Regions from separate parts of the Homo sapiens genome. Here regions 1, 3 and 4 are each linked to region 2. Evidence: promoter capture Hi-C in human tissues and cell types (Jung and others, 2019). All regions are on one chromosome and are shown on one strand. Each heading gives the region's core, a stretch centred on a gene start or on the middle of the fragment in contact. The rest is flanking DNA. Distances are from core to core; before and after follow the strand shown.

Region 1 (2,849 bases), core at 161-2,660, 660 kb after region 2:
TTTCAATTGTGCACCTTTCTGGTAGCTCTGTCCTGCCCAGGATGTGAATTATCCCTTGGTCCAGTGTATCCACACTGTACATGCTACTTGACCATGAGTCATTGACATTGTCTGCTCCTGACATCCCACCACCAACATCTTCATGGCTCAATAATCCAGGATCACCTAAAGCAGGTAGCATGCTGTCAAAGGGTCAGTAGTAACCTAATGCTGTGTCACAATGCCTAGGTCATTTACCTCACTTCATCTCATCACATAGACATTTTACTGTCTCACATCATCATAAGAAGGGTGAGTACAGTACAGTAAGATATTTTGAGAGAGCATATTCATGTAACTTTTATTACAGTATAGTTATAACTGTTCTATTTTATTCTTATTGTTGTTAATCTCTTACTATGACTAATTTATAAATTAAACTTTATCATAGGTATGTGTCCATAGGAAAAAACATAGTATACATGGAGTTCAGAACTATCTGTGGTTTAGGCATCCACTGGGGAACATACCCCCTATGAATAAGTGGGGACTATAGTATATTAAAATATTTTTGTAAAAGATTCTACACAACTTGTTACCTTTTATATTAACTCAAATATTTATTTCTTAGCCCAGTGCACAACTTGTTACCTTTTATATTAACTCAAATATTTATTTCTTAGCTCAGTGCTTACTAGCTTAGAATTGAAAGGGCAGAATGAAAGTCTCCCTGTCAACTTTGAATTTAACTCCAAACTAGATGCATTTGGGCTGTAACACCTGCAGATACAGTAACAGAGATTTGGGTAGGAAAAGGTCAATAAAGGAAATACTGCTAAAGCTCCTGCATTAGACCTCAGGGATGCATTTTGGATAAAATGTTTCCACAACCAAACTGGGCGAATAAAAAAGAAAGTAATTATATTAAAAAAGTATTCAGGTGATAAGCTTAAACTGTCTCAAAATCAACACATCTAAATTTAAAGCACTCTTTTACCATCTCCACTCATTTCTAGGTCAGCTCTTTTCCTCCCAACTTTTCTTTTTATCCTAGACTTAAATCCTCAGAGTCAGTTTTTACTCATTCCTTTTTTTTCTTTGAACATATCTAGCTAATTTTCAGTCTATAAACTTTTTCTTTGAATCATCTATTTTAATACATCTGACCCTACTTTTGCATTTCCACTGCTTCTACTCTAGTCCAGACCCACAACACCTCTTACCAGTGCTATTACTATTGAGACAGCCTTCTGACATTGACATCCTTGCCTAAATCCAAATGATATATTCTATACACTAGAGTGGCAATCATCATTCTTTTTTTTTTTTTGAAACAGAGTCTCGTTCTGTCACCCAGGCTGGAGGACAGTGGCGACCTCGGCTCATTACAACTTCTGCCTCCTGGGTTCAAGTGATTCTCCTGCCTCAGCCTCCCGAGTAGCTGGGATTACAGGCATGCGCCACCATGCCCAGCTAATTTTGTGTGTGTGTGTGTGTGTGTGTGTGTGTGTGTGTTTTTAGTAGAGACAGAGTTTCACCATGTTGGCCAGGCTAGCCTCGAACTCCTAACCTCAAGTGATCCACCCACCTCGGCCTCCCAAAGTCCTGGGATTACAGGCGTAAGCCACCATGCCCGGCCATTAGAATCATCATTCTAAAAAGGTTACTTTCCTGTTCAAAAGCCTTTTATAGCTTTTTGGCAATAACAGGATAAACCCAAACTTCTTAGTACAGCATCCATAAGACAGCCAACTTAACACTTCATCAAAGTCTCTGTACCATTTACATGACATTATTTATCATTCACCAAAATAAGGAAACCACTCTTTCATCTCTGTGTTTTTGTTAATTCTAGTCCCTTAACATGTAACAGGCTTCTTTCCCAATCTCTTTATCTACTAAAAATCCTGATTCAAGAGTCAGCTAAAATGATACCTTCTCTGAGAAGCCTTTATCCCCTTACGCCTAACCTGCAGTTAGAATTAATTACTCCGAAGAAAAACTTCACTTCCAATTGGCACTTAATTCTTTATATCTCTTTATATCTCTACATGAACATGCTTCCCACCCCACACTACTGTAAATTCCTTCAAGGCAGGGCCAGTTTCTGTTTCATCTTATATTTCAGAGGTTCAGCACAAAGCTAGAGAATATAATGTGAATTTTAAAATGTTTTCTTGTCGGGAGGTAGAGACAGGAGGATTGCTTGGGGCCAGGAGTTCAAGACCAGCCTGGGTAACATAGCAAGACCCTACCTCTACATAAAAAAAAAAAAAAAAAATTAGCTGGGCATAGTGGCACATGCTTGTCGTCCTAGCTACTCAGGAGGCTAAGGCGGGAGGATCGCTTAAGCCCAGGAGTTTGGGGTGTAATCATGCCATTGTGCTCTAGCCTGGGCGACAGAGTGAGACCCTGTCTCAAAGAAAAAAAAAAAAAAAGTTTCTTGGATTGAATATTATTGCCAGGTTAATCTTTCTTAACACTGCTACTGTCGTAATGGTCTTTCCCTAAAATATTTTTAGTGGCTCTTTATTTCTATGAAATCAAATATGAAGTTCTAGGCCTGGTTTTCAGGACCATCCAGAATTCCCTACTATATTACACCAAGTTATTTCCCACAACACATCTTTTCTGCCCCAGTTAAGCAAGTTTCTTCATAGTCTCACCAACAGGTGATATGATCTTGAAATTTCGGGGTTGAAAGGATTGTTTTTTAAAGACAGGGTCTTGCTCTATCACATCAGGCTGGAGTGTAATGACATGATCATAGCTCCTTGTAACCTCCAACTCCTGGGCTCAAGTAATCCTCCTGCCTCAGGCTCCCTACTAGCTAAGACTACAGGTATACGCCACTACACCAGGCTAATTTT
Region 2 (2,706 bases), core at 173-2,672:
AGGAGAACCCCCTACCCAGTCAGGGCCAGACGCCCTAGGGAGGAGACACTAGTCCAAGTCTCCATCGTCTATCCCTGGAGCCCATACTGAAACTTAAGAAAGAAAAGCTAGCAGCTGGGGACCCCAGGAGGGAGGGGGTCAACTCTCTACTCCAGGCGGCTCCCCTCCCTTCCCTCCTCCTGGCTAATAGGTATTTCCTGTTTATGAGGCAGCTAAAGCTGAGCTTTTGGGAAGGGATGGAGATGGAGCCCCTCCCCTCCTAGGGCTGGGTTGGGGAGTCCTTGAAGTGTGACTGAAGGTTGGGAGGCTCCTCCCAGGGGAAGGAGTGTTCCTTACATTGACCATCCACATCATCTCCCATCCAACCCCCCACGGCCCACAGCCTCTGCCTCTCTGGGTTAGGGGGCACTGGAGGGGCCTGTTTCCTGTTCTCATCTCCGAAGCCCTCAAAGGACAGCAGCTTCCAGGCAGGGGGGTCGGAGGCGGTGGGGTTGGGCGGTTGGTACGGAGGTGAAGGCACCAAGGCTGGAGAAAGGGGGGAAGGGAAGAGAGTGTCTTGACTGATGCGTCAGTCTGCAAGAAGGAAGGATGGCCTCCTATCGCCCCTCCGTAATCCAATCTGGTGGTCATTCCGCAGCCCCCTCCCCCCAGCAAAACACAGATCCCAAGCCCTTAGGCGGAGGAGGGCGGGGACCCCACTTAATTAACCCTTTTAGTTCTAGTCCCAACTGGTTTCGCAGGCAAAGGAGGAGTGGTTAATTTAGGGAAGGGGTGAGTTGAGGGGTTGCTACAAGAATTAAGAGAATGCTTCTTTACCCATCCAGCCTAGGGTAGGGACGCGAAACAAGGGGCCTCCAGAAGAAGGCTGGCGTCTCAGCAGGGAGCACGGACAGGGGGTCTGCAGTCCCTTTTCCCTCCCGGAGCGCGGCCCGGGGTGGAGAGAGATACACCACACTGCCCACCCCGGCTCCGCCTCCCCCAGCCGCGGCTCCCGCTCCGGCTCAGCCAGACTCCCCATCCGGCGGCACCCGGAGGACGGACACCGAGCGCGCGGCTGCGCCTCCAAGCCCTCCCCTTCGCCCTCCCTCTCTGGGGTCTCTGCCTCCGTCTCCTTTTTTAAAAGCTGCGTCACATGCATGCCGTTCCCCGAGCGCTCCCAGCCCCTCGCCGCCCGCCCGCCGCGCGGCGCACGCACGTCGTCGCTTGCTGCGCGCTCTCCCGGGTCACTTTGACACGGCTCTCCCCTCCCACTAGCAGGACAATTAGCATATTAATAAAGCCCGGCCCTGCCCGGCTTGGGCTGGGGAGCCGGCGCCGGCGCGAGGGAGCGCGAGCGCGAGGGCGGAGAGGGGGGCGCTCGGCGACGGCGGCGGGAGCGCACAGACACGCACACGCACACGCGCACACACGCACACACGGACACACACTCCGCGGACTCACACCCGCGCGCACACACGCAGAGGCCGCTCGCCTTCCTGCCTGGCTTCCTTCCTGTCTGCTCCGCGCCTGACAGGCCCCTCGCCGCAGCCAGGGGCCGCCCGCACCGGGCCGAGGCCGGGCCGGGCCGGCGGCGAGCGCAGCGGGGGCCGCGGGCGGCGGCGGCGGCTCATGCCCGGCCTGTCCCCGCGAGGGGCGGGCACCGTGACTCGGCTGGGCCCCCAGAGGCGGGCGATGTGAAGATGTCAGTGGGCTGTGCCTGTCCTGGTGAGTGGGGCGTGCGGCCACTCGGCCCCTTCCTGCCCAGCCGTCCCTGCGGACCCCTCACCCCGTGTTTGGCGAGAACTTGTGTGGGGGGCGTCGATGGCATGGGGGAAGCCGGGGGCTGGAAGGGCTACGCGGGGCCTCAGGCTGGCGGGTAGCGTTTTCCCCAACTGTGTAAATGCGCAGCAGCCCAGAAACACGGGGAGGAGACGCTGGGGGTGGCTTATGTGTATGTTTTTTTGGGGGTAGGCTAATTGGGGAGAGGTTTGGGGGGGGCTGAAATTCTCAGAATTCCAGGTTGTTAGCCAATCAGAAGTGACTCTGGACTTTTGACCCCCCCCCTCAGGTCACCATAGAGTTGTGATTGGCTGGTTTGGGCTGCCCCCCCTTCCCTGCTGCCCATTGCCTCTTACCTATCCTGTGACATCCCCCCCATGCTGTTTCTGAGGACCCTGTTTGCAGGGAGGTATTGATTGCGGCCCATCTTGCCCCCCACCTTCAACTTTTCCTGCCTGTTGCCAGGGAAGGTTGGCCCTCCTGAGGCACCGGAGGTACTCCTAAGAGGTGCCAGATAATTGGACCCTTGGGTCTGGCATCTCCGCCCTAGTGGGAGGGCAGGCTAGGAAATAGAGTGATTTGTGGAGAGGTAAGCTGGGGGAGCAATACTTGACCCAAAACTGAGAACTTGAGAGAGGACCCAGGCTCAGATCCCTGCCTCCCCAAAACATATCAGCTCTTGCCAGGGATAGCCTAGGTCTGAGTTTTTTTCCTGGGGGGCAGGTGGGGGGGGCGGAGGGCGTCTACCTCACTGCCAGGAGGAAAGAGAGAAGCCATGCGACTGGAGAGGTAGTCTACAGAGGGCCTCACGGCACACTGTCTGTCTCCATCCCCGGGACTCTGGGTCCTGGAATTGGCCCTCCTGCCCCAGACTGGAGTCAGCTTTCTCCTGGAAGTCAGTGTCCCTGAATGTAGCCCGCTTTGGCTACATACTTCACAGCTGGACAC
Region 3 (2,700 bases), core at 152-2,651, 770 kb after region 2:
CCCTAAGGCCACCTGTTAAGCTTAAAATCTATGCATTCCATCATTCTTTAGTTGTAACCACAAAGTCTGGTTTTACACCTAGGAAATACAAAAAGCATCAGATTAAAAGCATCAAATATCAGACTATACGAGTTTGCCAAAGATAAGCACAGCAAAAAGAAAAGCGTGATACAAAGTTAAAGAAATATGTTCCAAGGGGTTTAAGCACACCCACAAAATCCAATCTTTGCTCACACTGTGCTTCAACCTAAAACTGACGGGTAACCACAAATCCTGACTTATCCCTGACTTACTTCCCTCTACCAACCTCCACCCTTTTTATCTCCTAAATTTCTCAACTGATCTCATCACTTCTTATGGGTCTTTGCAACTCTCATCTCCACGGCCTTTCCTTTCCCAGAAAATGATACAAAGCACCTGGCCTCCACATTTTACCGTCCCACAATTTACCTTTAAATTTTGTTTTGCTTACCCTATTAGATACTCATTTTGCCCCAATCTCCTGTACCCATGTTTCCCTGACAATCTGCTCTTACTTTTCATCACCTTGTCCTTATTACAGTATTTAGCTTCTCCTTTCAAAGTAGCGTTATGTACCCCTCCCTGACATTTGTAATTCTAGCTTACAGTCAACACCCTTTTCCCCTCCCAGGGACTGTCATTATAGCCCTAGGTCCTCATTCCCAGTCCTTATCTTCTTTAGTGAGGCCTCTTCCCTTCCAGAGTTTGTCAACAGTAGTTTGGCCAAGCTGGGATTCCACCCTCAAGGCAAAGGCTATCCTCCCTCCTCATTCTACAAAACTATAAGCCTCTCACCAGCCCTAGCGTTCCCTCCTCCACCCTTAAATCCATCTGCATCCAGCCCTGCCCGTTCCCCTCTACCCACCGTATCTGTCTTCACTCTATCCCGCGCTCCCTTCCCCAGTCGTGAATGCACCTCCTCTCCCGGGCCTTACCGGTAACCCTGACACCAGGAAGGCCCCGCCAGCGGCCTCACGGCGTTTCTCCAGAGAGCTTCCTCCGCTTTTCAGTAACAGTCCCCACGCCCCTTTCCCTCCAGGGCCCCGCGCGCCGCCTGGAGCCCCCTCCTCGATTAAGCTCCCGCTGTCACTTGGCCTCTCATCCACAAGATGGCGGAGCCGCTGCCCCCACCCCTGGGTCCGCTCCGCAACCCCCAGCCTCCTTTCTGGAGCTCCCATCCCATCCCTCCAGCCGCTCCGCCGCCAGCCTCGGCCCAGGGTCCCGCTGCCCGGTCCCGCAGTGGGCGGGCGGCCCAGGCCAGCGACGCCGCCAACGCCAGCGCCTCCACCGTTCCCCGGCCTCCACCGTCTCCTCACCATAAACTTGAGTGCCTTCTCTTGCAGCACCGCCTCGGCCGGGTCCATAATCGCCGAGGCCACTGGGTCCGCTCTCCGCCGGGGCCGCCCCTTTGGTGCCAGGCCGCAGCCAACGCAGCGCCCGGATCCCGCCTCCTCTTCCTTCCCCCCGCCCTCTCTTACCTCTCAGGCGCAGGCTGAGGGGCCAAGGAGAATCGGCTTCTCCGTGCGCAGGCGAAAGCCCACTGGCTCACGGGATTTGTAGTTCTGGAACTTCCCCCAGGAAAAAAACTGAGGCTACGCCGTGAACCGCAACTCCCACAGTTCACTGCGGCAGCGTTGCGGTTGCCCACAAGCCAGATTTAGATAAGTTGCCATTACGCAGAGGAAATCGGCTGATGGGAATTGTAGTTTACAGCCTCTAAGGATGAGAAACGGGAGGGGCACGGGTGTCTCCGTGGTTACCGAGCGACGCCAGTAGCGGCTTGCCTGGCATTTGATATCAAGATGGCGGCCAATGCCTCACTTGTAGCCCAAATACTAAGAAAAACTGTGGCAAGAATCACGGGTCCTAGGACCTGCCTAACTGTGGTTTTAGGAAGCTGAACGTCCCCAAATTTCATGTATCTGGCATCTGCAGGTTTGCGACCCAGAGTAGCTGGGCCAATGGGCACCTGGCAGCAGCTCACAGACAAATGCGGAATTTCAAGGTCCTCCTAAGCCATCGCCACCCACACTTCTCCCGAGGAATCTTTTCTCCCCCACAGCAAGTCAGGGCCGAATAGAACTCGGTTCAAGAAATTCTCAGTGTTTAGAGCTCAAAAAGCACATAACTTGCTATTGCTAACTGTGGGATGTAAGCCCTGCACTAAGGGTCAAACAGGTACTTAACAAAAGTCCTTCAACGGTGGAATATAATGGCCTCCAGCAAATAAAGCATATAAATATTTTCTTTGGCCTGAAAAGGTACAATATGGGTTTATTTTGGAAATTGGGTCTACCTTAGGAGGAGAAAACTCTAGGGTTTGGTTAAAAGTGATTTAGGTTGTTTTAAGCTGCTATGTTTGTGATAATTGGTTATACAGCCTAAAAAACTGACACACACCCAAATGCCCCTCAGCAGGTGGTTGTATGAACAAATTGTAGCATATTCCATATGTAGCACAGTGGAATATTACTTAGCAATGAAAAAGAACAGTATAACAACAACAACAACAACAAAAGTGATTTAGGGCCAGGCGCGGTGACTGACGCTTGTAATCCCAGCACTGTGGGAGGCTAAGGCGGGTGGATCACCTGAGGTCAGGAGTTCGAGACGAGCCTGGCCAACATGGAGAAACCCCCGTCTCTACTAAAAATACAAAAATTAGTCGGGCCTGGTGGC
Region 4 (2,700 bases), core at 77-2,576, 550 kb before region 2:
GGAGACGGAGTTTCGCTCTTCTGCCCAGACTGGAATTCAGTGGCACGATCTCGGCTCACTGCAACCTCCACCTTCCAGGTTCAAGCGATTCTCCTGCCTCAGCCTCCCGAATAGCTGGGATTACAGGCATGTGCCACCATCCCCAGCTAATTTTTGTATTTTTCGTAGAGATGGGGTTTCACCATATTGACTAGGCTGGTCTTGAACTCCTGACCTCAGGTGATCCACGTGCTTTGGCCTCCCAAAGTGCTGGGATTATAGGCGTGAGCCACCGTGCCTGGCCCTCAGTTTCTTATCTTCAAAATTGGGCAATAATCATGCTGCACAGTTGTCAAGAGGATGAGATGAGATGTCCGTACAGTGAGTAGTAGGTGCTAAATCAATGGTAGCAAATATAACAGCTGGCAGAAAGTCTGGAGTCCAGGCTTTCCAAGGCCCCTAAGACCTCTACCTCCCACCTTCCCTCCCATGTGGCTCTGTGACTTTCAAGGCCAGCAGCCCCCTCCCTTCGGGACTCCCAGGGCCACCCCAACCACACCTCCTGCTTAGCTTTGTAAGTGGGAAAGGCTCTTATCAGAGGCTCCTGATTGGCTCCAGGCGCAAACACAGTTTAGTGCTCAGTCAAGCTGCATCTCACGGCCTCTGTCCCTGTCTCCCCCTCATCCCCCTTAATTGCAATCTGTTCTGTAATTTCCTTTTCCAACACTGCAGAACACAGAGAAGCTGCAGCCACCAGGAGCAGGGGCAGGGAGGAGAGAAAGAGAGCCCTGGCTCCCTGCAGTCATTCTGCTGGTCCAGCACTGGTGTGTGTGTGTGTCCAGAACCAACCACACACAGGCGTGGAAGTGCAGCCAACAACCAGTCCCCCACAGTGTCAGAACCGGGGGAAAGAGTTAAGGAGGTAGCCACTTGCACCAGGTACTTCACAGTTACCTTATTTAATCCTCGCAAAGACACTGTTAACTGTAGGTATTGTCATTCACAGTATGAGGATGGGGCTCATAGAATTTGAATCACTCGCCCATGATCGCACAGGAAGAACTGGGCACAGTCAGGATTTGAACTCAGGCCTATTTCACTGCTGGGTCCCAAATTTATACCACAATACCTGTTTGCTTTTGGCTCCTAATGCTCTGCTCTCAGAAAAGGAGCTAAGGAATCCTTCTGCACGAAGGAACACGGAACAGTTTCTTCTCCAGAGCGAATAGCAGTGTCCCAGGGACAAAAAGCCTTTGCTAAAGAAATGAAATATTAATGACAGAACTGCAGAAAGCAAGCTGTGTCCAGGAGGGGGCAGGGAGAATTTGCTTGGATACCTGAAGCTGAGAGGTACAGGGTTGGGGTCAGAATCCCATTTAGCTAAGCCAACTGCTTCTCCTTTGAGTCATTAGTGGGTCTCATCCTTTGATTAGCCCTACAAGATAGCCGTTTACTGTCCCTAGTTCCCAGATGATGAAACCAAGGCTCACAAAGGTTAAGTCACTTGCCCAGAGTCACACAGCTAGGAAATGGCTTGACTGTGATTCCCGCCAGCCCACTTGCTGAAAGCCCATTTTATTCCATGATGCCACCCCAGGGAGGTAGGTGAGAGGCGGCCCTCGCTTTTTGCCACTCACCCTGTTTTCAGGATCCAGAAGACCCTGCCCTGGGGTCCCAGAGTCAGCTGCTGCTCTGGATGCCACCAGTAGAGGGGGCAGGAGGTGCCCAGCCCCACCCTTACAACCAAGGAAAGGGCCTGGGGAGGCTGTTGTAGTTGGGGCTTTGGCCTGGGATCAGCTGCCTCCACTTCCACCCAGGACTCAGAAGCCCCTGTGCCAGCCCCCTGGAGGCACAGCCCTAGGAGCCCCCCAAGACCGCTGGAGCAGGAGGAGAAAGAGCTCACCATAGGAGACACACGGGCTCCGTCCACAGGCAGGCCCTCTTGGCCACATTCCTAACACTAGAGAGGCCTGTCACCCAGGCCACCACTGACTCATGTGGGAGATTATGCCCCACACCAGAGTACAAGGCGTGGCACCAGCTGCAGGCCCCTCAGCCAGTTCCCTTGGGTAGGGCACAAGCTGTACAGCTACACTTGGCCCTGCCTGTGACACCAGCCAGACCCTTCCCTGGGCCTACATTTCAGCACTGTTCCCCAGCCCAGGCCCAGGCCCACCTAGAGCACCTGGTCCCGGGCTGGAGCCCAGCATTCTCCTTCCCTAGCCCTCCTTGCTGCCAGGACGTCAGAATCCTGCAGAATGATGCTGGTCCACCAACCTCAGCCCCCTTGGATTCCCTTTGGAGGCACAGAGCAAGCCTGGTCTAGGGTTGTCACATAGGAATGGGGCTTCCCTCGAGTCTCCAGGGGACAGTGCCAAAGCAGTTTTCCTGCTGGAATGCTACAGATGGCTTCTGGGAAGATGGGGATAAGAAGCTTTGGTTTGTAAACAACAGCCCATCCTGGACCAAGGGATCCAATCCAGCCCAACTCTTCCCTCACTCTCCCCAGCTCCTATGGGGATGCAGCCTGGATTTCATCCTTACTCATGCCCCAGGCCCCTTTCCCGCCCTGAGACCTCCAGATCTGGCATAGCAGCAGGTCGGAAGAAGAAAAAGCAGGAGGAAGGGGCATTCAGGGGCTGAGATGCTGATCCAGGCAGTGGGGGAGGCATCTGCACAGCTGCAGGCAGCCCCCCTACCCCCAGTCTGTGAATGGGTACA

The links. The method cuts DNA at HindIII sites, captures the fragments that hold promoters and counts their contacts. A contact is called where the count stands out against the background at its distance.
Region 1: a contact is called between a fragment that was not itself captured here and the fragment with the promoter of LDB1 in region 2, in 1 of the 25 tissues and cell types used here (aorta).
Region 3: a contact is called between the fragment with the promoter of BTRC here and the fragment with the promoter of LDB1 in region 2, in 1 of the 25 tissues and cell types used here (aorta).
Region 4: a contact is called between a fragment that was not itself captured here and the fragment with the promoter of LDB1 in region 2, in 1 of the 25 tissues and cell types used here (dorsolateral prefrontal cortex).

The regions. Positions count from the first base shown.
Region 1 is chr10:101,454,629-101,457,477 of GRCh38, reverse strand. All of the region lies in intron 2 of BTRC (beta-transducin repeat containing E3 ubiquitin protein ligase), which reads right to left. Among named protein-coding and RNA genes, the nearest start is that of BTRC, 100 kb to the right of the region's middle. The HindIII fragment of the contact is 4,588 bases long and covers 1-2,849 here.
Region 2 is chr10:102,119,084-102,121,789 of GRCh38, reverse strand. LDB1 (LIM domain binding 1) reads left to right here and starts at 1,422. Exons shown (of 11, transcript NM_001113407.3): 1 at 1,422-1,704. The coding sequence starts at 1,680. It also overlaps a transcript of PPRC1 not described here. RefSeq lists enhancers at 1-32, 33-784, 785-1,536 and silencers at 1,033-1,162, 1,183-1,482, 1,543-1,622, 1,713-1,782. The HindIII fragment of the contact is 10,982 bases long and covers 1-2,706 here.
Region 3 is chr10:101,352,866-101,355,565 of GRCh38, reverse strand. It overlaps BTRC (beta-transducin repeat containing E3 ubiquitin protein ligase), which reads right to left and starts at 1,401. Exons shown (of 15, transcript NM_033637.4): 1 at 1,338-1,401. The coding sequence starts at 1,385. RefSeq lists a silencer at 1,178-1,357. The HindIII fragment of the contact is 8,909 bases long and covers 1-2,700 here.
Region 4 is chr10:102,668,972-102,671,671 of GRCh38, reverse strand. No RefSeq gene overlaps it. Among named protein-coding and RNA genes, the nearest start is that of TRIM8, 26 kb to the right of the region's middle. RefSeq lists enhancers at 771-1,372, 1,373-1,974, 1,975-2,577. The HindIII fragment of the contact is 7,795 bases long and covers 1-2,700 here.